2 separate regions of the Homo sapiens genome follow, and region 2 is linked to region 1. Evidence: promoter capture Hi-C in 16 types of primary human blood cells and fetal thymus (Javierre and others, 2016). All regions are on one chromosome and are shown on one strand. The core of a region is centred on a gene start or on the middle of the fragment in contact, and the rest is flanking DNA. Distances in the headings are between cores, read along the strand shown. Region 1 holds the start of RNF103 (ring finger protein 103). Region 2 overlaps RNF103-CHMP3 (RNF103-CHMP3 readthrough).

What was found. The method cuts DNA at HindIII sites, captures the fragments that hold promoters and counts their contacts. A CHiCAGO score of 5 or more calls a contact.
Region 2: a fragment that was not itself captured here is called in contact with the fragment with the promoter of RNF103 in region 1 in 6 of 17 cell types (M2 macrophages, M0 macrophages, M1 macrophages and 3 more); the score reaches 7.6 in M2 macrophages.

Annotation. Positions count from the first base shown.
Region 1 is chr2:86,622,105-86,626,630 of GRCh38, forward strand. It overlaps RNF103 (ring finger protein 103), which reads right to left and starts at 1,761. Exons shown (of 4, transcript NM_005667.4): 1 at 557-1,761. The coding sequence starts at 782. All of the region lies in intron 2 of RNF103-CHMP3 (RNF103-CHMP3 readthrough), which reads right to left. RefSeq lists silencers at 582-631, 812-891, 1,162-1,701, 1,782-1,951 and an enhancer at 1,662-1,956. The HindIII fragment of the contact is 8,880 bases long and covers 769-4,526 here.
Region 2 is chr2:86,694,383-86,698,897 of GRCh38, forward strand. The region is part of intron 1 of RNF103-CHMP3 (RNF103-CHMP3 readthrough); the gene reads right to left. Among named protein-coding and RNA genes, the nearest start is that of RMND5A, 24 kb to the right of the region's middle. RefSeq lists an enhancer at 301-1,500. The HindIII fragment of the contact is 2,782 bases long and covers 727-3,508 here.

The sequences.
Region 1 (4,526 bases), core at 511-3,010:
TATTTTCACCAAACTTAAAGTCTGAAAAGCTAATACTGTACGGTGTATACTGTCTATATTCAAACTCATGATTTAACATTTAAATCCTAGGCCCAAGTGCCTCTGATAGTAAGTATTCCAAAGATGTGTCCCCACTCTGGGTATCTTATTATTACTATCGTGACAAATATTGCTATTGACAGACAACGTTTTGGAGTTTTTCTTACGTTTTTATGAACTTCAACTGACAAATAATGCTTTCCAGTTTGTAACTAGTTGATATTCCAGAATTTTGAGAAAATCACTCAACTTAGTAAACAACGCTAAGAAGCCACACTTTAAACTGTCATTTTACGATAACCTTAAAAGGATACACCAACACTCCTCCAAATAATTTCAGACTCCTCCTCAAAGCTGGGATCCGCATACTTGATTGTAGGAAGCTTGGACGAAGAAACCTGGGCAGCTTTAACGCTTCCAGGAAAGGCCTCACTCTGGGGGAACAGCCAGGTACCAGGAGGTACAGGTCGTCCCCTCTCCCAGGTGGAGGGGACCCTAGGGGAAGCCCGATACTCGCCTGACTTTTCCACCAGCTCCCGGACATCCTTCTTCTCGGGCAACCCTGAGTAGCCCAACCCCCGGCACTCCAAAATGGTCTTCAGCTTCTTGAAGCTCAGCGCCACCGGATCCACCAGCTGGGTGGCAAAGATGCCAGTTTCATACCACACAATGGCCTCAAAAAACCTGGCCAGGACGAACAGGACCAGGAAATAGAGGAGCAAGAAAAAAAGCTTCAGCCACATCTTCCCTGGAGTTTCCTCTCTTTCCAGAGAGCTCGGAATACGGGAGAGAGAAGGGTCGAGGGCGGGGGCCGCGGCTCGGTGGCAGCTTGGGCGAGGGCCCCGTGTCCACGCGCGGGCCACCCGGCGCCGTCACTGGCCGGCCATCCCCGGCGGGGAAGCAGGTGACGGGATCCGCGCGGGCGCGAGGCGGCGACGAGGGACGCAGAGACGCAGAGCCTCGCGCCGGGCCTCCCAGTCAAGAGCCGACAAAAATAAAGGGGAAAAACTCAAAACCCCCATCCATTAAGCACAGAAAGGAGAGGGGCGCGGGGAGAGCTCGCGGGGAAGAACAAAACGAGGGACGCTTCCCCCGGGGCGGGCACTGACCCAGGTGGCGGGGTCGGCCCTCCGGTGCCGCGATCTCAAGGGGGAGGGGGAGACCAAAAAATAACTCAGATCCGCCCAGGAGGCGGGGATCCGGGCGGCAGGCCGGGGCCCGAGGGGCCGTGGGGGCCGGACTCCCGCGGCCGCGGGTCAGGAGGGCGCGGCGCTCGGCCGGGCCAGGCCCGGGGCCCAGCGTGTTCTGCGCGGGGAGGAGCGGCCGCCGCAACGCCGCGCCCGAAGCCCAGGCCCCAGGCCCCGCCGACCGCCCAGGCTCCGCGAGAAGAGCGGCGGGCACGGCGGCGGCTCCAGGTTCGCTCGGGCCGGCTGGCGGGCGGCGCCTCTCAGGCGGGCGGGCACTGCGGCCCGGCCCAGGATGGGGCGTCGCGGTCTCTGCAGATGGAATCGGTCTCGGAGGGAAAAAACCAATAATAGGCCCCGAGACTGCTCCTCCAGGCGGCTACCCGGCTGCCTCCCGGCCACTCAGCGCCCGTCCCGCTCGGATGGGCAGTGCCGGTCGCAGCACCCGTCCCCAACACCCCCGCCACCTCCGGAGACCGCGGCCGTACCCTCCACAACCGTGTATCAGCGGCGGCCGCGGCCGGAGCCGAGACATAACAACTGACGTCGCGATGAGGCGGGGCCGGGGCGGGGCCTGCAGGGTGCGCCCGCAGGGGCCGAGGGCGGGGAATTCGGGGAGCCGCGGGGCTACCGGACTACCGAACGAGGGGCGGGAGGAGAGGCGGAGCCGCAGCGTGGTCGGGGCCTTCCCGCGGTGCCGAAAGTTGCCTCTCCGTGCTTTTGCGGCGTGGTCTCCCCTTTTGCCCCTCCAATGTTTAGCAATTGATTTTGTCTGAGGATTAGTCTTTAGATTGTATCACTTTGTGTATTTTTTGTAAAAATAGAGCAGTTAATTATTCTCTTAAAATCGGTGAAAATAGAAATGTACGTTTTTTGATGAATCCTGGTGAACAGGGAAATTTTTGGCACAGTTGGTTTGAGATGGTAGAAGGTTAAACCCAGAAAGCAAATGTTTTGCCCCCTCTTCATGAGAATGTGGCTTTGCACATGTGTGTTGGAGGAGGTTTGGCCAAAACTGGAGTTCGCGTTATACTAGGCCCAGTTGTCGCTGCCAGTTACAGCCTTTTCCCTCCTTCAGTCTCAAGGGTGTTAAAAGCCTGGTGTGGACTCCCTGAGTTCCTAGGACAAAGATTGTCGAGTGTAGATAAGTCCAGGTGCAAAGTTCCGGGTGCTTTATTTTGTACATGGGCCTGGCACAGTGGCTCACGCCTGTAATCCCAGCACTTTGGGAGGCCGAGGCGGGCAGATCACGAGGTCAGGAGTTCGAGACCATCCTGGTTAACACGGTGAAACCCTGCCTCTATTAAAAATACAAAAAATTAGGCCGGCGTGGTGGTGGGCCCCTGTAGTCCCAGCTACTCGGGAGGCTAAGGCAGGAGAATGGCGTGAACCCGGGAGGCGGAGCTTGTAGGGAGCTGAGATCGCGCCACTGCACTCCATCCAGCCTGGGTGACATAGCAAGACTCCGTCTCAAAAAAAAAAAAAAAAAAAAAAAAAAAAAAAGAAAGAAAGAAAAGAAAAAAAAGAGTCACATGGACAAGCATGCGATACCTGGTTCTGTGCTTATAAATTTAACCGGGCCGAGCGTACTCTTTACGTCAATCTCTGTGTCAGTCTTGAGGGAGGAAGGAGTTGGGTTCATAAACTGAACAAGGTTGGCTTTGACCAGCCCCTTTTGATAAGGAAGGAAAAAAAAAACAGTAATTACGGGGAAATGTTACTATTTGTGCAAAACTGTCAACTATCTGAAACTAGGGGTGAAAGTTTTAGGAAGAAAGGGATCATGATCCCAGGTCATGGAGCAAGGGAGGAACGGGAAGCAAAGAATGGACTGTGAGAATGTAGCCTCCGAATGGTGCCCATTTAAAATAAAGTGAACAAGGGCATTTCAGTGCCGGGCTAGTGGGGGAGGAGTTGGAAGGGGATGGGCCCAGGGAGCATTGAGAATCAGAGGAGGAGGTGTAGGAATGTCCAGCCAGCAACTGGACACTGCCCCTGTGTCTTTAGCTTCCATGTGGCTTTGTTCTCGTGGCTGGCAGATCAGTGTGGGAGACTGTGTTAAACAACTGATTCTAACAAGCCTGGTTCTGAAATTTCAGAATTCTTGGGCATGTCTTGGTGACCCTTTGATGATATTGTCCAAACCTTGACACTGAAGGTGATGTCCCTCACCTCAAAGGAATGTATGTACTCGCTAGTGAGGAGAGACTGACCCAATCTCAAAAATACAGAATAGGCATGGGCAGGGAAAGTTGGTGTGTGAGCTGAGGGTGGAACCAGTCAGGCCAGAGTTCCAAATTGGAAAAAAACATTAGAGTGTGGGAGGGACTAGAAAGAAGGAATTAAAGAACTCTTTTTAAATTTCTTGTTTGTTTCAACTGCCTCCCATCCCAACCCCCTTGCTTTGTTTCATTCATGGTTAACCCACAGGAGGGATAAAAGCATTGATAAGAGAACACATTGGGTCATCTGAATAAGAGAGTATGGACAAGCACATTCTATGTTGGTGGGGTATACAATGTGGGTTAGAAGCCCCCCATAAAATACAAGCTCTTTGGCACAGTAATCTCTCTTCAGGAAATTTATCTTGAGGAATAATTGGACATGGGCACAAAGATGTGTGTATAGAATTTCGTCGTTGTTGCAGAGTTAATGCTGGAAAGAAAAAAGGAAGAACCCAAATATCTAGTGACAGAGGATTGATCAAATACAGTAATTCAAATGATGAACCATGAGGCAGCCACTAAAAAGAAAAATGTAGACACACGGTTATGGACATGGAACCATGTCCAAAATATAGTGTTTGGTGAAAAAAACCAGGTGACTGAGAAGTTTGCGTCATATGATCCTATTTTTGTATCTGTATTACAAAAAGACAGAGATGTATCCACTAAATTGTTAGGTGTATTCACCTCTAAGTGATGGGATTTAGAATATTTTTTCTTTTATGCTATATCTCTGTTTTATTATATTTTCTGAAATAATCATGTATTACTTTGTAATCTAAAAAAAAAACAACAACAACAAAACAAAACAAAAAAACCCACTAGGACTGTTTTCCTGGTCCGGAGGTTTAGCGGCAGCGGTTCATCCTCTGGGACTCCAAAGATGACAGGGGTTGGAGGTGTGGGCTGTCTTCCCATGAGATTGATTTCAGTTTCCACTAAGCCTAGCTGGGCAGACTAATTAGAATTTATTTTCAAAAACAGAAGAATGTATGAATTATTCATTTTCATAATCTGTTTTTCTAATAGGCTATTAATCTGGGTTATTGGTTTTATATCTCAGATTCTGTTCATATGT
Region 2 (4,515 bases), core at 868-3,367, 73 kb after region 1:
GGGCACAGTGGCTCAGGTCTGTAATGCCAGCACTTTGGGAGGCCAAGATGGGCAGATCATGAGGTCAGGAGATCGAGACCATCCCGGCCAACACGGTGAAACCCTGTCTTTACTAAAAAAATACAAAAAAATTAGCCGGGCATGGTGGTGGGTGCCTGTAGTCCCAGCTACTCAGGAGGCTGAGGCAGGAGAATGGCATGAACCTGGGAGGCGGAGCTTGCAGTGAGCCGAGATTGTGCTACTGCTCTCCAGCCTGAGCGACAGAGCAAGACTCTGTCTCAAAAAAAAAAAAAAGAAAAAAAAAACATTAACAACCCAACACAAAAATGGGCAAAATAAGACTTCATCAAAGAAGATACACAGACGGCAAATAAGAAAATGAAGAGATGTTCAAAAAATCATTAGCCATTAGATAAATACAAATTAAAAATCATGATGAGATTCTTCCACACCCCAATTGGAACATCTTAAATTTTGAAGACTGTCCATGCCAAGTGTTGTCAAGGATGTGGAGCAACTGTAACTCTTATATATAGCTGGTGGGAATGAAAAATGGTTAACCACTTTGAAAAACAGTTTGGCAGTTTCTTAAAATTTAAACATACACTTACCATATAACCCAGTTGTAGGATATAATAAATTCCTCTTCAAAGGTTTTAGCCTGTAAATTGTTAAGTACAATGAGTTCTGGTATCAGTAAGTTCAGCTCCCTGTTCTTTATTTTAAAGCTTAACTTCCTCGTTCTCTTCTCTCCTTGCCCCTAGTTTCAGTAAACAAACTCCTCCTAGCCTCTATCACCTGCTCCATCCTGAGTCACCTCTGGTCACCTGCTCTGTCCTGAGTCATCCCTGGTCAGCTGCTCTGACCTGAGTCATCCTGAGTCACCTGTTCTGTAACCGTCTTCCCCGCTAAACAACGCACCCCACCACTCTGACTCATACCCCTGCTCTCTTTAAAATAGCCAATTGGAATTGGCTTAGACTGTGTCGTCCCACCCTAGCCAATAGGGGAACAACACAGCAGTAGGGGCTACCTGTGTCAGGAATAAGAACCCCTTCCCCTTCCTTGTTCAGATGTGCTCTCGCCATTGCTCCATCCACGAGGTGCGCCCTTCTATAGAAGTAAAATTGCCTTGCTGAGAAAATTAAATTTATGTTCGAGTGCTATTTCTTTTGTGGCATCAAAAATTTATTTCTAACACAGTCATTCTATTCCTAGGTATTTACCTAGAAGAAATGAAAGCATATGCCCATAAAATTTCTTTTGCACAATTGTTCATACCAACTTTATTTGTAAGAGCCTCAGACTAGAAATAACCCAAAAGTGCATCAATAGGTTAATGGATAAACAAATTGTGGTAAATTTGTACAATGGAATACTACTCATTCTAAGGAACAATAAAATAAATGAAATATTGATACATGCTATAACATGGATGAATCTCAAACTAATTACATGAAGTACAAGAGGGCAGGCAAAAAAGAGTACATATTGTATAACTCCATTTATGTAAAAGTCTAGAAAATGCAAAATAATCTATAACAACAGGAAGTATATCATGTGGATGGGCATAAGGCAGGGAAGTGCAGGAGGGAGAGATTACCAAGTGGCACATGATCCTTTTGGTGTGATGGGTGTATTCATTGGCTGGACTGTGATGATTGTTTCACAGATGTACACATATGTCAAAACTCACCAATTGTATACTTTAAACATGTGCTGTTTATTGTATATTAACCACATCTCAATAAAGCTCCATTATATTCTGTATTTCCTCCTTGAAGAAAATCTGTTTTAAAATAATGTTTTATCCTTATGGTTAGGTACTTTACAATGCTGTATTAATTATCATTTGGAATTCTATAAAATCATTTATAGAATTTACACTTTATGTCTATTGTGTAGTTCTTACAAAAGATTCATTAGAATATTTTGAAATCACTTAAAAGGAAGTACAGTTATAGATTTTGTATTGGTTCCATTTTATTCATTGTATTATTCAAACCTATTGTATCTTTACGAAATTTTTAAATTATTTTGATAATGTAGATTTATTGTCTTCAATTATAATTACACATTTATTGTTTCATTGATGATAGATGATTCTTTTACATATGCTTGACTGGGGTGTGGGGAGGGAGTCTTTTTTGAGGGTGGTTCTGTGGAGGCAACTTGAAATTTCTTAAACTCTACATTAAGTTGGGGCTCTTTTTTTAATTGCTTCAGAAATTTTATCTTCAATTATTCCTTTTTTTTTTTTCTTTTGACAAGGTCTCACTCTGTCACCCAGGCTGGAGTGAAGTGGCCCAATCATGGCTCACTGCAGCCTCGACCTCCCTGGCTCAAGTGATCCTCCCACTTCAGCCTCCTGAGAAGTTGGGACTACAGGCAAGCTCCATTACACCCAGCTTTTTTTCTTTTTTTTTTCCTTTTTTTTGAGACAGAGTCTCACTCTATTGCCAGGCTGGAGTGCAGTGGTGTGATTTTGGCTCACTGTAACCTCCACCTCCCAGGTTCAAGCAATTCTCCTGCCTCAGCCTCCTGAGTAGCTGGGACTACAAGCGCATGCCACCACGCCCAGCTAATTTTTGTATTTTTAGTAGAGACAGGGTTTCACTGGGTTGGCCAGGATGGTCTTGATCTCTTGACCTCGTGATCCACCCGCCTTGGCCTCCCAAAGTGCTGGGATTACAGGTGTGAGCCACCACGCCTGGCCTTTTTTTTTTTTTTTCAAGTACAGATGAGGTCTTGCTACGTTGCCCAGGCTGGTCTTGAACTCCTGGGCTGAAGTGATCCTTTCACCTCGGCCTCCCAAAGTGCTGGGTTTACAGGTATGAGCCACCACACCCAGCTTAATTATTTCTTAAATTGTGCCTATTGGCTGGGTGCGATGGCTCGCGCCTGTAATCCCAGCACTTTGGGAGGCCGAGGCAGGTGGATCACCTGAGGTCAGGAGTTGGAGACCAGCCTGGCCAACGACTCTGGAGACTAAGGCAGGAGAACTGCTTGAACCCAGGAGGCAGAGGTTACAGTGAGCCGAGATCGCACCATTGTACTCCAGCCTGGGCAACAAGAGCGAAACTCCGTCTAAAAAAAAAAATTGTGCATATTGCTGGCCTTTTCTTTACCTTCTTATATAGCTCTGTGTCTTGTCAGTTGGAGCTTAGATGCACAGAGCCACATCTTTTTTGGAAGAGACTTTGGATACTATGATCTCCCAACCTCTTCAACTTATAGACAAGGAAACAAAGGCACAGAGAATGTCTTACCTAAGGCCAAATAACTGGGTGAACTGGTTTGGAACATCAAAGTTTTAATTTCCTGTTCTATGTCCTTTGTACTCCACATCCTCTTTTTCATCTTTTTAGGATGGATCATCATTTCCATTTAAGGGTTCTCTGCTTAACTTCCCTGTGGCTTGAGACATGTTTTCATGTTGTTTCCTTTATTACTTGTTAGCTACATTGTCTCATTTCTCTTGGGGAAGCAAACCTGTGTTGTGTGAGAAAGCTTTTAATAACCTTTTCCCCCACCCTGCTACTCTATGACTATGACCTATCTTTTGATAAACTGTTTCCTAATTTTTAGTCCTCAGGTCTTGTTTTTTGGTTTTACTTTCTTTTCTTACAGTCAATTCAGTTGCTTCAGTCTCATGTTTGTGGTTCTTAAGATTTTCCCTCTATTTTCTTCCTTTTTCTTTGGGATCTTGAGGTTATAAAACCTTTCCCTCCCACCCTCATTATGACTGAGACTTACTTTGTTAATTCACGTCTTGTTTAATCTTATTTTGTTTGTCTTCTACATCTCTATTGTTACTTTAGTGGGTTTTCTCAAAACACTCATATTCATTCCATCTTCTTCACAGAACCCTTTTGCTTATAACTCGGGAAAACACAGAAGTTCAATTGTATTCTACAAACTATCATGTGAAGTAAATTATCAATAAAGATTAGGATGGTAAATAGTTTTTGTCTGACTCCTCCCCTTGTGAGCCATCTCTCTGAGCACCTCTTGTTTCCCTGATGAGCTCTTGCTACCAGGTATAGTAAACAGAATTGATATGAGATCAAATGAGAAAGTGTGCATGAAAATAATTTAACTAAGAATACACTGAGCAAATATATTAGTGTCAAAATCATGATATCAATTAACTAAGATTATTAATTAATGTTAAACTTTAAAATAAAAGATAAAGGATAGTTACATGTATATTACAGTTAAATTAAATGCTGCTTTTGTGGGGGCACATGGTGGACCCCTGTACTAGAATTCCTTTTCCCAGAACTATGCAGGCCAGAGCCACATTTCAGAAACTATTTTTTTAAAGGATCAGAAATCAATTGGAATTATAATAAAACATATGACACATCTGATGAAACATAATGTTCATATAAAATAAAATGTGCTTACTTGTTTGCAATTATCTATATGTATACATTTTTATATACAGTAAAAACAATCATCTATTTTTCAGACACTGAGCTGGAACCACCCAAGTAAGCTACTCCTGGATTT